Regions from separate parts of the Homo sapiens genome. Here all the other regions are linked to region 3. The links are contacts of gene promoters, found by promoter capture Hi-C in blood cells and fetal thymus (Javierre and others, 2016). All regions are on one chromosome and are shown on one strand. The core of a region is centred on a gene start or on the middle of the fragment in contact, and the rest is flanking DNA. Distances in the headings are between cores, read along the strand shown.

What was found. The method cuts DNA at HindIII sites, captures the fragments that hold promoters and counts their contacts. A CHiCAGO score of 5 or more calls a contact.
Region 1: a fragment that was not itself captured here is called in contact with the fragment with the promoter of FOXM1 in region 3 in 2 of 17 cell types (endothelial precursors and megakaryocytes); the score reaches 9.8 in endothelial precursors.
Region 2: a fragment that was not itself captured here is called in contact with the fragment with the promoter of FOXM1 in region 3 in 2 of 17 cell types (endothelial precursors and megakaryocytes); the score reaches 8.2 in endothelial precursors.
Region 4: a fragment that was not itself captured here is called in contact with the fragment with the promoter of FOXM1 in region 3 in 1 of 17 cell types (fetal thymus); the score reaches 5.0 in fetal thymus.

Annotation. Positions count from the first base shown.
Region 1 is chr12:3,056,363-3,059,719 of GRCh38, forward strand. No RefSeq gene overlaps it. Among named protein-coding and RNA genes, the nearest start is that of TSPAN9, 19 kb to the right of the region's middle. The HindIII fragment of the contact is 1,356 bases long and covers 1,173-2,528 here.
Region 2 is chr12:3,027,209-3,030,592 of GRCh38, forward strand. The region is part of intron 10 of TEAD4 (TEA domain transcription factor 4); the gene reads left to right. Among named protein-coding and RNA genes, the nearest start is that of TSPAN9, 48 kb to the right of the region's middle. The HindIII fragment of the contact is 2,524 bases long and covers 834-3,357 here.
Region 3 is chr12:2,875,361-2,878,898 of GRCh38, forward strand. FOXM1 (forkhead box M1) reads right to left here and starts at 1,814. Exons shown (of 9, transcript NM_021953.4): 1 at 1,560-1,814. RHNO1 (RAD9-HUS1-RAD1 interacting nuclear orphan 1) reads left to right here and starts at 1,863. Exons shown (of 3, transcript NM_001252499.3): 1 at 1,863-1,922. RefSeq lists silencers at 1,570-1,639, 1,680-2,119. The HindIII fragment of the contact is 3,757 bases long and covers 1-3,181 here.
Region 4 is chr12:2,680,935-2,684,144 of GRCh38, forward strand. It overlaps CACNA1C (calcium voltage-gated channel subunit alpha1 C), which reads left to right. Exons shown (of 47, transcript NM_000719.7): 43 at 1,616-1,744. The region is part of intron 3 of CACNA1C-AS1 (CACNA1C antisense RNA 1); the gene reads right to left. Among named protein-coding and RNA genes, the nearest start is that of CACNA1C-AS1, 8.6 kb to the right of the region's middle. The HindIII fragment of the contact is 2,041 bases long and covers 466-2,506 here.

The DNA.
Region 1 (3,357 bases), core at 601-3,100, 180 kb after region 3:
GGCTGACGTCTGTAATCCCAGCATTTTGGAAGGCTGAGGCAGGAGGATTGCTTAAGTCCAGGGGTTTGAGACCAGCCTGGGCAACATAACAAGACCCCTAATCTATAACAAAACAACACTACAGAGAGAGAGGGCGGACCTGGCTGAGGGAGCAGCCCCAGCCTGTGGTCACTGGGACCACGGAAGGAGCCACATGCACAGGTGCTCACTTGTGAACAGCACCTACTTTCTGGGCTTCAGAGCGTGGTCCCCGGAAGAGTGCCAGTGCGTCATCTGGGAGCCCACTGCACGTGCAAACCTCACCCCACCCACTCCAGCCCTTCCCAGTCAAAATCCTCAGGGGGTTCCTGAAGTTTGAGAAACAACAGAGCTAGACTTTTTGACCAGGTACAGATTGATCACCCCAAAGCCATGGTCAATCCATGATAACTCCTCTCCCCCATGGAGATGGAGTAGGGATATGAGTGGGATACAGAGACTTCCTTCCATGGAAAGGTATGCATTTGAGCAGCATATTCATCACCGTTTGTAAAAATTAGTGACTTTTCTCTTTACAAACAAAACACCAATAAAAATGAATGAAAGAAAATTAAATTTGAAAGAGGTGCTTCCTTTTAATTTGACTTGTAATATTTTTAACTGTCAAAATTTCAACAAATAAATCTCTTTCTATACTTTTGTGTTAGTTTATAAGCTACTAAGTCATGGTCAGTTGAGTTTTTAATGCCTGAGGGAAGCTTTTATGCGTGGAGAGGAACAAATTTATTTGTGTATTTTACTTATGTTTCCAGTTTATTGAAGGTGTACATTTTATTGTTATTTTCATTTTTATTTGTTTTACTTTGTTTTGGGGGGACAGAGTCTCGCTCTGTCACCCAAACTGGAGCACAGTGGTATAATCATGGCTCATTGCAGCCTTCAACTCCTGGTCCCATGTGATGCTCCTGCCTCAGCCTCCCAAAATGGTGGGACCACAAGCATGAGCCACTGCACCCAAAGTTGTACATTTTCAAGACTAGTTTTGTTAAGTTCAACTCATACAATTTATTACTTTGCTCATAAATCTAGTATTTTTATGTTACTTTGCTCATAAATCTAGTATTTCTATCACTTGTTCTTTGATTAATGCCTGATTAGCTTATAAATTCTCTAAACATTAAATATTACTTATAAGCTTGATTAATTAAATTAGCTTAGGCTGTTTAAACTATATTAATATTAATATTCAAACATCTAACAAGGCAGATATACAAATCTAACAAAATCTTAGACACTAAGCATGTAGCACTAATAATTTAAACACTATTCACAAAACATAGCCTCAATTTATAGACCCAATTAGATTTATTTAAGCATTTAACCACCAAACTTAATCTACCTAAATACTAAACTAATATCACAAGTTTAATGTCACATGCTTTTACACTTTTCCAACACTTTAAAAAGCAGATTTTAAAATTCTATACTTTAAAGTCATTAGTGGTTAATTTTGTTACGTGAATTTTACCTCAACTAAAAGCAGATAAAACCCAAATCATCCCAGTGTTTGCAGTAGTTATTACCTAAAGCTATTAAAGTAGTTACTCCTTAAAGGTATTACAAGAGTATTAATGTACGTTCGTGTCCATCATCTTCTTTATATTTATTTTTAAGCCTCTATCCAAAGAAAGAAAGCAGAATTAGCCTCACAGTTGGGCTGAAATCAGTTGAAGATGTAGGTCTGAGGTACGGTTACAGATCGGGGTATGAGTTCCAGATTTGGAGCTGCCGTGCTGTTCCAGTATGGAGAGATGCTTGGAGCCTGGGCACTGGGTCTGGGAGTGGGGCCTGGATGTGCCTTCTACAGTCATTTCTCCCAGGCTGGCAATTATCAGTGTGGGTGGCTTCCTTTGGTCAAGTTTTTCCTGCCGAATTAACAAGATTCATAGAACTCTCACTGTTTTGTTTTGTTTTGTTTTTTGTTTTTAAATAACTCAGTGCATCTTTCATCCCTGAGTGTCCTTTAAATCTCATTACCTGATATAAATACATAAGTACAAGAAATTCGGGCTGGGAGCGGTGGCTCACGCCTGTAATCCCAGCACTTTGGGAGGCCAAGGCGGGCGGATCACGAGGTCAGGAGATCGAGACCATCCTGGCTAACACGGTGAAACCCCGTCTCTACTAAAAATACAAAAAATTATCCGGGCGTGGTGGCGGGCGCCTGTAGTCCCAGCTACTCGGGAGGCTGAGGCAGGAGAATGGCGTGAACCTGGGAGGCGGAGCTTGCAGTGAGCCGAGATCGCGCCACTGCACTCCAACTTGGGCGACAGAGCCAGACTCTGTCTCAAAAGAAAAAAAAAAAAGTACAAGAAATTCATAGCTTAATTATGAATCAAAACTTGGCTATGGTATGCACAGTGTTTTAAAAGTGGACACTTCAGAACAATTGGCTTTGGCAAAACAAAAACAACCAAAAACCAGTTGACATTTTCAGGAGCTCACATATACTTTTAGTATAACCCATATCCAGTACCATTATGGACTCAAGCTTTTCACTACATTTTTGTTTTCTTTTTGATAATCAGATGATCACAGTTTTGCCTTTTTTTCCTTTCTTTTCTTTTCTTTTTAGAGACAATGTCACTGCAGCCTTGAACACCTGGGCTCAAGGGATCCTTCCACTTCGGCTTCCCAAGTAGCTGGGACTACAGGTACGCGCCACCACACCCAGCTAATTTTTTTATTTTTTGTAGATGTGGGGTCTCGTTATGTTGTCCAGGCTGGTCTTGAATTCCTGGCCTCCAGTGACTCTCCTGCCTCAGCCTCCCAAAGAGTGGGGATCACAGGCATGAGCCACCGTGCCTGGCTGGCTTTGACTTTTTTTCTTTCTTTTTTTTTTTTTTTTTTTGAGACGGAGTCTTGCACTGTCGCCCAGGCTGGAGTGCAGTGGCGCCATCTCGGCTCACTGCAAGCTCTGCCTCCTGGGTTCACGCCATTCTCCTGCCTCAGCCTCCCGAGTAGCTGGGACTACAGGCGCCCGCCACCACACCCGGCTAATTTTTTTGTACTTTTAGTAGAGATGGGGTTTCACCGTGTTAGCCAGGATGGTTTCGATCTCCTGACCTCGTGATCCGCCCGCCTTGGCCTCCCAAAAGTGCTGGGATTACAGGTGTGAGCCACCGCACCCGGCCCAGCTTTGACTTTTTATGCTGCGTCCTTTTTCCTTTTAACACTACCTTAAACATTTTTGTTTTTTAACTTACATACTTCTAGCAAAGTCTGCTCAGGCCAACTCTGATTTTTCTTGCACCAAGGTATGGAATCAGCTATTCCCCAAGGAGCCCTGTTTCTTTGAGTGGCAAATGTTATCAGTTG
Region 2 (3,384 bases), core at 846-3,345, 150 kb after region 3:
TCTCGAACTCCTGACCTCAAGTGATAGATTTACAGGCGTGAGCCACCACACCCAGCCTCCTGCTCCTTTCTTTGTCTTTGTTTCTTTTTAATTCCGTTTTTCTGTTTGTTTTGGTCCTTGTCTTTCCAGCTGGAGGGTTTTCTTTGGTGTCTTTAGTTCTTAGCTGCCTGTCTGTATTTTTTTAACAGCTTTCTTGCAATGTAATTAACTTACCTTACAGTTCACCTACTTAAAACATACAGGCCACGCACAGTGGCTCACATCTTAATCCCAGCAGTTTGGGAGGCCGAAGCAGACAGATTGCTTGAGCTCAGGAGTTTGAGACCAGCCTGGGCACATGACAAAAACCTGTCTCCACAAAAATAATACAAAAATTAGTCAGGCGTGATGGCATGTGCCAGTAACCCCTACACTTTGGGAGGACGAGGCGGGTGGATTGCTTGAGTCCATGAGTTGGGGACCAGCTTGGCCAACATGGCAAAACCCCATCTCTCCTAAAAATACCAAAATTAGCCAGGCATGGTGGTGCGTGCCTGTAATCCAAGCTACTCAGGTGGCTGAGATGGGAAGATCGCTTGAGCCTGGGAGGCAGAGGTTGTAGTAAGCTGAGATCACACCACTGCACTGCAGCCTGGGTGACAGAGCAAGATCCCATCTCAAAAAATAAAGTATACAATTCCGAGTTTTTAAGTATATTCACAAAGTTGTGCAACCATCACCACAATCAATTTTAGAACATTTTCATCATCCCGAAAATAAGCCCTGTTCCCTTTAGCTGTCACTCCCCACTCCTACCCCCCAGCCCTGTGCAATAATCTACTTTCTGTCTTTGAAGCTTTGCCTATTCTGGACATTTTGTATAAAAGGGTTTGTGGAGGATGTGGTCTTTTGTGACTGGCTTCTTGAACTTGGCATAGTGTTTTCAAGGTTCAACCATGTTGTAGCACGTACGTTCCTTTTTATGGCCAAATGTACGGAGAGTCCACATTGTTTATCCATTCATCAGTTCATGGGCATTTGGGTTGTCTCCTCTTGGCTGTTAGGAGTAGTGCTACTGTGAACATTACGTACCAGTGTTTGTGTGGACGTTCATTTTCATTTCCATATGCTTATGTCTGGAATTACTGGGTCATATGGCAACTCTCTTTCACTTTCTGAGGCACTCCCAAGAGTCTTCCGAAGTGGCTGCACCGTTTTCTGTTCCCACCTGCAGGGTATGAGGGTATGAGGATCCTATTTTCTCCACATCCTCACCAACACTTGATATTCTCTGATTGTAGCCATCCTAGCAAATGTGAAGTGGTATCTCATTGTGGTTTTTATCTGCATTTCCCTGATGACTGATGATGGTAAGCATCTTTTCATGTGCTTACTGGCCATTCGTATATCTTCTTTGTAGAAATGCCAATTCAGAAATTTAGGTCCATTGCCCTTTTTTTTTTGAGACAGTCTTTCTCTGTCACCTAGGCTGGAGTACAGCGGCGTAATTTTGGCTCACTGCAACCTCTGCCTCCCAGGTTCAACTGATTCTCGTACCTCAGCCTTCTGAGTAGCTGGAATTACAGGCACGCACCACCATGCCCAGCTCATTTTTGTATTTTTGGTAAAGGCGGGGTTTTACCATGTTGTCCAGGCTGGTCTTGAACTCCTGAGCTCAAGCGATTCGCCTGCCTCAACCTCCCAAAGTGCTGGGATTACACGTGTGAGCCGCTGTCCCCAACCCCATTGCCCATTTTTATAATAAATTGGGTTATTTTTTATTATTGAATTATGAGTTCTTAGTTCTGGATGAAAGTTCCTTATCAGTTATATGATTTGTAATTATTATTTCCCATTCTGTTGAATGTCTTTTCACATTCTTTTTTCTTTTTTTCTTCAGAGACAGGGTCTTGCTGTGTCTTCCAGGCTGGAGTGCACTGGCATGATTATTGCTCACTGCAACCTTGAACTTGGGCTCAAGTGATCCTCCCGCCTCAACTTCTTGAGTAGCTGGGACTAGAGGCATGCACTACTACGCCTGGCCAATTTTTTTTTTTTTTTTTTTTTTGAGATGAAGTCTCACTCTGTCACCCAGGCCGGAGTGCAGTGGCATGATCTCGGCTCACTGCAAGCTCCGCCTCCCGGGTTCACGCCATTCTTGTGCCTCAGCCTCCCAGGTAGCTGGGACTTCAGGCGCCCGCCACCACGCCCAGCTAATTTTTTTGTATTTTTAGTAGAGACGGGGTTTCACTGTGTTAGCCAGGATGGTCTCGATCTCCTGACCTCGTGATCCACCAGCCTCGGCCTCCCAAAGTGCTGGGATTACAGGCGTGAGCCACCGCGCCCGGCCCAAGTTTTTATTTTTATTTAAATTTTTTATAGAGGGTGTCACTATGTTGCCCAGGCTGGTCTTGAACTCCTGGCCTCAAGTGATCCTCCTGCCTCAGCCTTCCAAAGTGCTGGGATTACAGGTGTGAGCCACTGTGCCTGGCCCCTTTTCACATTCCTAGTAGTGTCCTTTGATGCACAAACGTTTCTAGTGTTGATGATGTCCAGTTTATCAAGTTTTCCTTTTGTTATTTGTTCTGGTTATATTTAGTAGTGACTGGGAGCTCTTCGTGCAAGGTAGGACTTGTCACCTGGTGGGTTTCGCTTTAGGGTGATTGGGCTTGGGGAGCTAGCTGTTTTATTGGGGAAATCAATAAATATGTGTGTTTACTGGACTTTTTTTTCCCCCTGAGGTGATTTAGTTTCTCCAGAGACGATTCATCTAATTTCCCTGGAAGGGACATACTTGGTCACAAGTGTTCTGGTAGTGGGATAAAGGGTCGGGGGTAGGGGCCCTGACCATTTCTGATGCTGGCTTTCACTTAACTCTCCTGTTCTTACTCCCCCTCTTCCCTCTCTTTTGAATAAGCCCTGTGTCCCTGAGACCTGTTGCCCTCCTGTTTAATTTCTGAAGATGGTCACCCTTTGGTCCTCTTTAAAAAGTTTTTTTGTTTGTTGGTGTGTTTTTTAATTTTTAATTTCATAGAGACAGGGTCTTGCTATGTTGCCCAGACTGGTTTTAAACTCCTGGGCTTAAGCCATTCTCCTGCCTCAGCCTCCCAAAGTAATGGGATTACGGGCAGGAGCCACCATACCCGGCTGACCCTTTGATCTTCTACCGATGCATGGGAGGGGTGGGCCTGGGGGCTGGACTGTCCAGTGTACAGACTTTTTGTCAGTTCCTGGGGACAAATCCTGTTCCCTCCAGCTCCGAGCCACGCAGCTCAGCTTCTTATCTGTCACCCCTGAAGATATTGGTAGGTTGTGACTCTTTTTGCTTTCTCTACCCCGTGGAATCCAGTGTGGTCCTAATCAGCTTTGAGTCTCCAAAGCTTGCCCAGCTCTCTTGTCAGCTGG
Region 3 (3,538 bases), core at 564-3,063:
ATTGTACTATTGCCACACTACTGGAAAAATCATCTCCCAGTTTACAAAACCTCACATAAAATGGAAACCTCTACTGAAGGCCCATGTAAAGTTGTGCAGCTTGTGCACTGAACAACTCTAGAGGGTGACATTTATTTCACAGGCTATTATACTTGCTCTAATTTAAAAAGCATGTTTTCTTTTACAATTTGTATTGTATTTATACAGTGGCATTTTAGTACTTGCATGTGGTTATATATATTTTAACTAAGCATGCCACTTTATTAATTTCTTTTCCAGAAATAAGACTATAACCCCTGTCTTCTTAGTACCACAATGAGCTATCATCATTACACTAAGGTGGTTCTGAAATGCTAACAGTGTAGTCTTTTTTTTTTAAGTCTTTTGTTGATTTTTTTTAATTTTTTTTTTTTTTTTGAGACGGAGCTTCGCTCTTGTCACCCAGGCTGGAGTGCAATGGCGCAATCTCAGCTCACTGCAACCTCGGCCTCCCGGGTTCAAGCGATTCTCCTGCCTCAGCCTCCCGAGTAGCTGCAATTACAGGCATGCACCACCATGCCCAGCTAATTTTTTTTTTTTTTTTTTAGTAGAAACAGGGTTTCACCATGTTTGCCAGGCTGGTCTTGAACTCCTCAGGTGATCCACCCGCCTCGGCCTCCCAAAGTGCTGGGATTACAGGCGTGAGCCACTGCGCCCGGCCTTTTGTTGATTTTAATAGATACATGGAATATTCTACCATTAAGCAAAATTGTGTAATTCTATTTCACGGAACTTTGGAAGACAGAGGAATTGGCTGTCTCTTTTTTAGGACACTTATTCTCTCCCTGAAAAGCAACTGCACTTTTTTGACATTTGTCATCTGCATAGAGTTCACAGGCCCTCCACACCTCTACCTTCAAATCTCAGTTTTACTTTCACCTCCGATCTTTCCAGGCTTCCCTCTCTCCCCGCATCAATCAGTAGATATTATTCCTCTTTTTCCACAGGATATCTAAGTCTTAATTTTCTCTTCTACTTCCTGACCAGCCCGTTATTATTATTGCCAACACTTTCTTGCCCGGGAAACTTCCAGAGTGGCTCCTCCGACCCATCCCCATCCTGAGCGGGGAAATCTTGCTACATTCTCAAGAACCAGGAAAAGGGCCCTGCAAAAGGGTAAGTAAGATGGAGGCGGTGTTGCCTAGTGGTGAGACAGCCTGGGAGCAGGGGAGTGTGTATGCAGGTTGGTCTTTGACTCAATGTAGTACAATCTCAGTCTTCATCTCAGCCACAGTCGGCCTAAGAAGGTAGGCCACCCCAGCCCTCCCGAGGCCGCGGGCAGGGTGCGGAGGTCAGACTTCCAGGGAAGGCCAAGGGGCGCTTTAAGCAGTGAGAAGGCCACGGCCAGGAGGTGGACGCAGAAAAAACTTGCACCCTGGCTCAGATTCTTCCCGTGTGACCCAAATCTCCACTCGTGGCCCGTGCCCTGCTGCTAGACGCCCTGACCTCCGCGCCCGGAGGCCTTGCTCCCCGCCTGTGCCCAGGCCAGGCCTGGGACTCCATTGCTGCATCCCGCTCACCTCCAGACTGCAGTCGCCGCCGCCGTTAGGCCGTAGCTCCGAAGGCGGGCTCCGGGCTCCTCCAACCTGGGGGCCGAGCCAGGGCCCCGGACGGGGGCTCGCGCCGGACCGGCCGGGTCCCCGGCGGTGCGGGCGGGGTGGGAACCCCGGGGGATCCCGGGAGGGGAGGGGGTCCCGGGCCGGGGCCGGGGGTGGGGTCTGGCACCGGAGCTTTCAGTTTGTTCCGCTGTTTGAAATTGGCGCCGGCGGAGCGTTAAGGTCACGTGACGGAACGTCGCCAATCGGCGCCGGCCTTGTCTCGGCATTCCGGGCTCGAAGGCTGTGCGGTCTGCCAGGAGCTGCGGCCCCGTCCGGCCCGGGCTGGTAAGGCGGACCGCAGGCCGGCTTGTGGGGGAAGAAGTGGCCGTGGGGCCGGGGAGGGGCCGGAGGGGTCCCCGCCGCGTGGGTGGGCGAGCCGAGGGAGAGTTTGGGGACGCGCGGAAGCGGCGTGACAGGCCCGGGTCCCTGGGCCCGCTTTTCCTGCCGCGCTGGTCACGCCAGGCGACACGCCCCCGCTTCCCCTCAGGCTCCTCTGCTCCCCTTTTCAAAGCTCGGCTTTAGTTGATTTCCTCACTGGGGGAAATCGTACCCCATTTTCCCACAGTGAACGATCGTCTGCTCCCCCCGATTAGACTAAGTTCCTTTGAGGGCTGCGTATTATCTCCGCTTTCTTCCATCTTGAAAAAAAATGTCGGCACCATGAACCCTACCTCAGCGCGAAACCTGTCTTTTGCCCCTCCCGAAGCCAAGCCTTCGGATATAATAGACCGTAGTGCTTTATTTATTGACTTAGTCAACCAGTCTAGTTGAGCAACTGCTGTGCGCCAGGCACCGCTAGGCCCTGAAGATACAATGGCAGACAAGGTTCTTTCCTTCCCCTGGGCTCACAGCCCAATCCTGGAAGAGGGGCACAGACATTTTAATCAAATAAACAAATGTGGGCTGGGCATAGTGGCTCACGCCTGTAATCCCAGCACTTTAGGAGGCCGAGGCGGGTGGATCACTTGAGGTCACGAGTTCGAGACCAGCCTGGCAACATAGCGAAACCGCTTCTCTACTAAAAATTAGCCGGGCGTGGTGGTGCGTGCCTGTAGTCCCAGCTACTCTGGAGGCTGAGGTGGAAGGATCACCTGAGGCCGAGAGGTGGAGGCTATGGTAAGCCATGATCACACCACTGCACTCCAGCCTGGGCGACAGAGGGAGACACCGTCTCCAAAACAAACAAATGTTGAATTATTGCTGTAAATTGAAACATTAGAGGTTAATGATACTTTGAGTATTTACAATAACGAGATCTTGAGAGGTAGGACAGGAAAGGCTTTTGTAATGAGAGCTTGGTGTGAGATCTGATGCCTTTTACAAAGAAAGGAGGGAACTCCTCTAAGCAGAGGGAATCAGGCGTGCAAAGGCTGGATGGCAGGAGGAAGCACAGTGAGTACAAAGGCTGAGAAATATCTGAGGGGTTTGAGCTAATCGACCTGAATGGAGTGTGGTGTGAGTTGAAGCTGGAGCCGGAGGAAGCAGAGCCTTAGCCATACCGAGAAGTTTTGTGCTTATCCAAGAATTAAAGGAAACCAGTCATAAGCTTTAAGCAGAAGTGAATCCAGGTCAGATTTGCATTTTAAAAGGTCCCTCTATAGCGGGGATTGCTAGAGTGGATTAGGGCAGAACAGTTGGATGTTGCAATACTCCAGGCAAGAACTGCTGGAGCTTGAAAAAGGGTGGCAGGGAGAGAGAGAGAGGAAGAGAAAGAAGGAGACAGAGAGAGTAAAAAAGGGGCATTAAGAAAACATGTTTAAGAGGTAAAGTTGACAGGGCTTGATGGTGGGTTGGATGGGAGGTAGAAGTGTCAAGATTTTCAGCTGCATAACTGAAGGAATAATGACACTATTCCCTGACCAAGGGCCCTGGAAGATAATCACTTTGGCCAAGGGACGGGC
Region 4 (3,210 bases), core at 236-2,735, 190 kb before region 3:
GAAGGGCTGGCTTTGCATAGGAGAGGATCTAATCTAGGCATCTAGTCTTGGGGGCCTGCACCTGTTGTGGGGGCCTCATCCTTCTCTGCAACCTCACTCCCCTTCCACGGCCTTTGAGGACCCAAGTACTGGGTCCCCATACCCCCTTCTCCCCTCTGGCCTCATGAAGCTTCTGCTTAAGGAGGGCTCCACGTCCGTCTTTAGCATCTCAGGGTGAACTAATTCCCCACCCTCTAAGGGCATTTTCATGTGAAGCTTTGTTCTCTGTGACATAAGGGGAGAGGGATGTTTAGAGGAGCTGGGGGAGGAGACCCCAGGGGATTTCCTTGTCCCCACAGATATATCTCTCCACATAGCAAAATACATGCAAAGCACCCGGCACAGTGCCCAGCACACAGTCGGTGCTCATGAAATGTCGGTTCCCTCTGCCCACTGCAGATGGTACAAACAACACACAGGGCATCAAGCTTCAGCTTGGTGAAGAGGAGGAGCATAGCCCACGTCCCAGCTCCCTTGTCCCCGTGTCACAGCTCAAGGCTAACGGCAGCTCTAGTGCCAGCATTGCTTGTGCTGAGGATGGGCCAGCACGTCCTGTGCCCGGTGGCCCCCAAAAGTGCTGCTGCCTGCCTGCTGCTGCTCTGCGTCTCCAGCTCCTCCCTCCGTGCTTCACCAAAGCCCACTCCACCTCCCTCCCCTCCCAGTCCTCCTGGAGCTCCCACCTCTCATCTTTCCTTCCACTGCGGGGCGGGTGGCAGTCTGCAGTCCTCCTCCTCGAGAGAGAGAATTGCTTCTACCCTGCCTGGGATGCTCAGAGCCAGGGCACTGATTTAGCACTCGGCTCTGAGAGGATGGACCAGGATCTTTCTCTGATGCCCTCAGGGGTCTGAGGATAAAGTGGGCCCAGCATGCAAGGTCTATAGAAAGCAAGACAAAGGGAGGCACTGAGCTGAGCTCAGACAGGAAAAGGAAGAGGCCTTGGTCCAGAGCTAAAGATGACCTGACCCTGTCCCAGCAGGGAAAGGCACGTTCCGATGTGTGAGGATCTGGAGCTCAGGAGGGATTCAGGCTCAGCAGGGACTCAGGCTCACTGCCTTCTGCTCAGGAGAGCAAACCCCTCTAGGTGAGGCTTCCTCTCTGTGCCTTTACCCCAGGGTGCCAGTGTCAGAATCAAGGGCACCATCAAAATAAGAGGCCAAGGACTTCTCAGCTATGCCAAATGCCAAAGACCCAGGTGTCATAGCTGGAGGTGAGTGGGGGGCAGCCTCTAAGTTAGGCAGGGCATATGTCATTCCAATTTCATAGGGAAACTGAGGCATGAGGTGGACCAAGTGACTTGGACCAGAGGGTAAGTGGATTGGGGTCAGGACTCCTGGATCCACAGCAGACATCCTTCTCCCAAATGGGACCCTCACCCTAATCTGAACACTTCTATGGATCCATCAGCAATCACAGGAGAACAAAGCACCAGCAACTGTATGCCTGTTCACGTGTGTGTGCTTGTGTTTGTGCACGTGTGTACACCTGCATGTGTGTGCGTGTGTGATGCTTTACTTGCTGAAGGAAGTGGAGGAAGGTTGGCAGTTTCTGATGTTTTTCTTCATCTTGGATATTGTAGGTGCCACTCCCGGGAGAGCCAGGCAGCCATGGCGGGTCAGGAGGAGACGTCTCAGGATGAGACCTATGAAGTGAAGATGAACCATGACACGGAGGCCTGCAGTGAGCCCAGCCTGCTCTCCACAGAGATGTGAGCTCTGCTGCCCTCTGCTGAGGCTGACCCAAGTGTGGGAACAAATGTGGGGAGGCAGAGGCAGGTCCCTGAGATCCCTCCTCTGGGGCTGATTGCAGGAGGAGAGGAGATCACAGAGAAAACATCTGCACCGCCTCTTTCATCTCCTCAGTGAAATGGGAGCCCCCCAACACACAACACACACAAACACACACACACCACACACACACACAGACACACACAACACACACATACACGATGCCCTTTTTAGCTTGGGGTTTCCTCGCCAGGAAAATTTCTGAACATTGTTTTATAAACATTGTAGGCTGTAAGACACAGTCATAAATATATTTTCTGGTGAGACTCAGTATGCACATACATATATAGATAATTAAACAAGTGTTTCAAGACACTGCTTATAATGAAGCTGCCCAGAAGAGGGCACTGGTGGCAAAGCCAGGCCTGAGATTTTTGTCCTTGCTGCCATTCTTAGAGTATTTTTAGCTGCAGTTCTAGATCCTTTAGAAGGTGGTGACATCCATTTGGTCACTAATGACTAGCCCTTAAAAGCAGGTGCAGCACAGCACAATATCAGAAACTATCAGAATGCGTCAAACGTCACAAAGGTAAGCGCTGTGCTGGGAAACACTTGCTTAATTGCCAACAGATGTGGCTATCTGGGGGTCTCCTTGAGAAACATCTTTATGACTCTGAGTCACATCCACAGAAGTTTGAGACACAGAGTGACATCCACAGAAGTTTGAGACACAGTGTTTCCGAAGCTTTTCTGGCTCTTTTCACCCTCAAAGCCCTGTCTCATCTGTTACTGTATACATGACTCACAACAGGCCTCTGAGACAGAGAGGGCATATGTCATTTCAATTTTGTAGAAAGGGAAATTGAGGCATGGGGTTTTCCCCAGGGGGTAATGCCTGGGTCCCATGGGCTTGCGTGCAGCCACTTGAAAATGGGCCCTCTGGAGGGACAGGCAGGCCAGCGGCAGGTGTGCCTGCTCCTTGGATGGACACTTTTCCAGGGGTTTAGAGAGAAGCTCCCACTTCTCTATTATTTTCTGAGCTGGAGGGCAGGCATGTCAAGAACCTGGGATGCTGGGGGGCTGTGCCACCTGCTGGGAGCCACTGTCCCACTCTGGAACGGCAGCACAGTGAAGCGTGGCCAGGCACGATGCAGGGTGTGTCCTCTCTCAGCCCCGCCAGGGAACCCTGGAGCTGCCGATGCAGACAGGGAGGAGCCCCACGGGGGCCCAGGGCGGGAGGGAAGCCCTCACCGACCCCTCCCAGCATGTCAGTCCATTCAGTTCCTGAAAGGACTTCAGAGTGAGGAAGGACTAGCCTTGCAGGCTTTTGAAGACAGGAAAGGTGTGGCTGGAGGTGGTGGGAGGGGACACCAGGTGCCCCACCCTGAGGAGTGTGGGGAGAATGGCAGCCAGGCCAGCACAGCATGCGGCTTCCTGGGGTCCAGTG